Linked DNA regions of Homo sapiens: region 2 is linked to region 1. Evidence: promoter capture Hi-C in human tissues and cell types (Jung and others, 2019). All regions are on one chromosome and are shown on one strand. Each heading gives the region's core, a stretch centred on a gene start or on the middle of the fragment in contact. The rest is flanking DNA. Distances are from core to core; before and after follow the strand shown. Region 1 holds the start of C5orf34 (chromosome 5 open reading frame 34). Region 2 overlaps ZNF131 (zinc finger protein 131).

Region 1 (2,566 bases), core at 49-2,548:
GTGAGCACACACAGTGATTTTATGGATTTATACACATGCCCATCTGAGGCTTTCTTCCTTTTTCCGGTGGAGTGTATCAGAAAAATCATACTTCATCACTTTTGTCTCTTAACCGGCATGCCCAGGAAGTTGCTTCTCTCTGGGGCCTGCATTCAATTAACATTTTGATGTTAACAGGTGTGGGCCATCAGGAAATGGCCTTTCCCTGGCGCTGCCAAATTTTCATTTTTAGAGAGGCCATGTGATAATTGCTGAACCATCACCCAACATTTCTAGTGGGTGGGTGGCAGGGGAGAGCCCTCTCCTGCCTTGCTCATGCCTAACTACCTGTAACAGATTCAGTTCGCCATTTTATAATGTATGAGCATGATCTGTGGTCCCCCAAAACAATTACAGTAGTGACATCAAAGATCAGTGATCACACAGATCACTCTAACAGATACAAAAATAATGAAAAAGTTTGAAATATTGTGGGAATTACCAAAATATGTCAGAGACACAAAGTGAGCACATGATGTTGGAAAAACATGGCACCCATACACTTGCTCCATCAAGGTTGCCTCAAACCTTCCATTTGTAGTAAACTCAGTATCTGCAAAGCACAATAAAATGCACAATAAAACAAGGTATGCCTCTCTATGCTCTCACAAACCTCTGTATTTTATCTTAGAAACACTCACAACTGTAATAAATGATTGTTTATTCTTTCTTTCCAGTTAATCTCTAGCTCTGATCCTCACCCGCAAAGAACTGGGCCACCTTCCCTGCTTTATCCCCACTATGCCTAAACACACAGTGAGTGTTCCATAAACACTTGTTTAGTGGCAATAAATATAGCAGACACATTTATTTGCCACTTTATAAGGAAAAAAGGTGCAGATACATAGACGACCTATTTTCTGATACCAAATTAGGAAGAGTTCTCCATCTTTGGCCAAGTTTTTTTTTTTCTAAACAGCTTTACTGAAGTATAATCGTTTTTTACCTTATTTAAAAATAAGTACCACTCCACTAAAACGCGCTCTGTGGTTAGTTCTCGGCTGGACCGTTCAAAAGGCTGATCCTTACAGCCTTTATTATTAATACAACCAGGTCGGGACTGCTTTTGCGTGGGTCACCAGAAGTAAAAAATCAAAGAGGAGCCAACCCCATTCCGAACAAGGAAACACCCGTCCCCTTCCTACACCAATTCCTGCTCCGCCCTTCGTAGGGAACGCAGCGAGGGCAGCCTCCGGAGTGGAGGGGCGGGACTTCCGGCCCTTCCTGTTGTGGAGGGGCGGGACTTCCTGTCTTCCCTGTTGCGGAGCTCTGAAGCGGCTCCCTGAGGGCGCTGGTTTTGAACTGGTCTTGTGCGGTTTGCGCTTTCTCTTAGTGGTTACAGTTGGCGCTGTCTCCGCTTTCCTGTTTCGTGGCGGGCATCTTGGCCAAAACACTCTCCCTGCCACCTTATTCCTCTAGGGTTGTGATTTTTTTCTTTCACCAAGAAATATCACTCGCTGGTAATTTGTCAAACTGAAGAAACCCCTGAAGAAGCAGTGGTGGGCAGGCGCCGACGCTGCGGCTTCCAGAGCATTTTGGCAAATCAAAGCCAGGGACCGTTGCTGGGCCTCATTTCCGCAACTTTTCGGCTCCGAACTGCTGTGAGTGGAAGACTTTTGGTGGTTGTTTTGATCAGGCTCCTTCTGTAACTAGAGACTATAGCATTTTGAAAGAAATGAGATTCTCATTCATGTCAAGAACAGACTTGTGGATTTTTGAGTGTTAAACATACCCTGACGTAATGTGCTGGGTGATGAGAACGCAAGCGGGAATGAGACTGTAGAGATGAGAATGGCAGTGTGGGTTGGAGCCGGGTTATGGTTTCCTATGGTATGCCAAGAACCTTAGTCATTACACTGTTTGTTGTGTATGCTTGATTATTTAAAATTAGAAAACCGCCTCAGTAAAGCTATTAAAAAAAAGACCTGACCAAAGATAGACTATTTTTCCCAAATTGGAATCAGAAAATGTCTTCCATCTATGTATCAGCACCCGTTTTTTCCCCTAAAATACCAAGTAGACATACCCGATATATACGTGTGTGTTTATATATATATCTGTAATCTATATTGCCATTTGATAAGTACGTAAACAGGTGATGTAAAGCACTTGGTATGGTGTGACTTGTGGAAAGTTACCTATGTCATCAATACTAGAGATGGATTGGAGAGAGAAGAAATTCCAGACAGTTGCAGGAGTTGGAGAGTCTATGGCCTGAAAAAGAGAAAGAGGTAGAGAGAGTCAGGTTCCAAAGACAGAAAATCAACAGGACTTGTTACAGGGGCATGGAGTGGAAAGTCAAGTTTTAGAATATTGGCTGCTAACAATGAGACACCATTAATTCAAATTGCAAATTCAAGAGGAGCAGTTTACTTATTTTTCATCATTCAAATATTTATTGTGCCATTTACTATTTGCCTAATACTGTTTTAGATGCCAGAGATACTGTTACATATAAGACAGATAAGGCCCCTGCTTCGGTTGACTTTATATCCTAGTGGGAGAAAATAAAAAGCAAGTAAATAAT
Region 2 (2,566 bases), core at 41-2,540, 370 kb after region 1:
CCGGCTAATTTTTTGTATTTTTAGTAAAGACGATGTTTCACCATTTTGGCCAGGCTGGTCTCAAACTCCTGACCTCAAGTGATCCACCTGGCTTGGCCTCCCAAAGTGCTGGAATTACAAGCATAAGCCACTGCACCCAGGCCGTAAACTACTTCTTAGCCAGTTTTCTTATGCTTGTCTTAACTATAGGTATGACCTCTGAACTCAGATCCCTATCCCAAACAGGAGTAATTAAAGAACAAGAAAAAGTGCTCCTACCAGGCTTTTGTTTTGCAGAGTGGGATAAGCCAGCCTGTATTCACAACTGAACAGCAAGGAAAGAGATTTTAGAGGCTTATGACGGAATGGACATAAACCTGGCAACTGAGTCTCAGAGGCATAATTTCGAGGTAGTTTTTCAAACCCATCCACAAATGCCTCCTGAAGATGAAAAAAACACATAATCCCTGCCTCAGAGAGGTTGGAGACTATTAGAAAAATGTGGGAACACTAATATGATTATTGTTGTAATGGAAAATGTAAAACATAAAAATACAGAATAATAGAAGTGCCTAAGTCAATCTGCTTGGCTCAGTAAGGAAAAGCTTCAGAGAACAGGTTGTTGGCTCTCACCTGAGACCAGAAAGATGAGTAAAATTTTGCCATGAACAAGCAGACAGATGGCATTCCAAGAAATGAAAAGAACATATGCATAATCATGTTATTATGTGGCAGATATTGTTTTAAGAGCTTTACGTGTACCACTTCCTTAAAACATAAATCTAAGACAGGATAAAATATTTGGAGATTTGATCTGACCCACAGCTCACTTTTCAAATAGCCTTAAACACAAGACATTTGTCAAAAAACAATCAATGGCAACTGTTTATCATTGCAACTACTGTGGTGGCATTACAAGTTTGGGCTATCAAGAAGCTGAACAAAAACTGAAAGGAAAAACTGGAGAATGAGATGTTCATAGGGGGCTTTAAAAAGCTCTGACAGACTGGACGTGATGGCTCATGCCTGTCATCCCAGTACTTTGGGAGGTCAAGGCAGGTGGATCACCTGAGGTCAGGAGTTCAAGACCAGCTTGGCCAACATGGTGAAACTCCGACTCTACCAAAAGTAAAAAAAATTAGTTGGGCGTGGTGGTGAGCGCCTATAATCCCAGCTACTCAGGAGGCTGAGGCAGGAGAATCACTTGAACCTGGCAGGCGGAGGTTGCGGTGAGCCAGGATCGTGCCAACACAAAGCTCTGTCTCCAAAAAAAAAAAAAAAAAAAAAAAAAAAAAAGAAAGAAAGAAAAAAAGGCCAGGCGCCGTGGCTCACGCCTGTAATCCCAGCACTTTGGGAGGCCGAGACAAGTGGATCACGAGGTCAGGAGATCGAGACCATCCTGGCTAACACAGTGAAATCTCGTCCCTACTAAAAATACAAAATATTAGCTGGGCGTGGTGGCGAGTGCCTGTAGTCCCAGCTACTCGGGAGGCTGAGGCAGGAGAATAGCGTGAACCTGGGAGGTGGAGCTTGCAGTGAGCCAAGATCGCACCACTGCATTCCAGTCTTGGGGACAGAGCGAGACTCCGTCTCAAGGAAAAAAAAAAAAAAAAAAAAAAAAAAAAAAAAAAAAAAGCTCTGACAATATTCCAGAGAACCTAGAGGGCCATACACATGCACAGAGCTGTATACATGTCCAGGAAAGACCTTAGCAACTCTCATCTCTATCTGACCTTGAGGTTCTGTTAACACAGGAAGTAAAGGCTAAAGCAGTTGTAAACTGCTTGATGGGACACTGATGGTGTACCCTATAAAGAGCTCCCCAACAAAAATGTGGAGACTTACTGGTTTAAGACTTTTAAGAAAATTTCTGTCCAATGATCAGTTTGTTCAGTAAACTACCTATGCAGACTTCAGTGGCCATACACACAAAATGTAGACTGTACAGAATTACAGGAAAGGGATTACAGAAGTCCAGGAAAGTCACTAAACCAGTAACAACAATAAGAAACGATGTCTGGCTCATCTAAACTAGTTCCAGTGGGATAGGAAATTAAGAAACTTCAAATACAGCGTGTAGTTGAAGATGATAAACTTGCAACAGTGGAGAAGCAGATCACTGCTTTTGAGGACTATGTGCAGTCCATGGATGTGGCTGCTTTCAACAAGATCTAAAATCCATCCTGGATCACTGCACTTAAATAAAAGCTTGAGGCCGGGCGCAGTGACTCGTGCTTGTAATCCCAGCACTTTGGGAGGCAGAGGCGGGCAGATCACAAGGTAAAGAGATGAGACCATCCTGGCCAACATGGTGAAAACCCCATCTCTACTAAAAATACAAAAATTAGCTGGGCGTGGTGGCGTGTGCCTGTAGTCCCAGCTACTCGGGAGATTGAGGCAAAGGAATCGCTTGAACCCGGGAAGCAGAGGTTGCAGTGAGCCGAGATCACGCCACTGCACTCCATCCTGGTAACAGTGAGACTCTGTCTTCAAAAAAAAAAAAAAAAGCTTGAAAGATTAAAAAAAGAAACCATGTCTGGCCAAGTATGGTGGCTTATGCCTGCAATCCCGGCACTTTGAGAGGCTG

Evidence for each region. The method cuts DNA at HindIII sites, captures the fragments that hold promoters and counts their contacts. A contact is called where the count stands out against the background at its distance.
Region 2: a fragment that was not itself captured here is called in contact with the fragment with the promoter of C5orf34 in region 1 in 1 of the 25 tissues and cell types used here (H1 embryonic stem cells).

Annotation. Positions count from the first base shown.
Region 1 is chr5:43,513,880-43,516,445 of GRCh38, reverse strand. It overlaps C5orf34 (chromosome 5 open reading frame 34), which reads left to right and starts at 1,298. Exons shown (of 13, transcript NM_198566.4): 1 at 1,298-1,640. LOC124900190 (a long non-coding RNA gene) reads right to left here. Exons shown (of 3, transcript XR_007058764.1): 2 at 1-2,253. RefSeq lists an enhancer at 1,531-1,690. The HindIII fragment of the contact is 12,650 bases long and covers 1-2,566 here.
Region 2 is chr5:43,142,947-43,145,512 of GRCh38, reverse strand. All of the region lies in intron 4 of ZNF131 (zinc finger protein 131), which reads right to left. Among named protein-coding and RNA genes, the nearest start is that of ZNF131, 23 kb to the right of the region's middle. The HindIII fragment of the contact is 3,467 bases long and covers 1-2,566 here.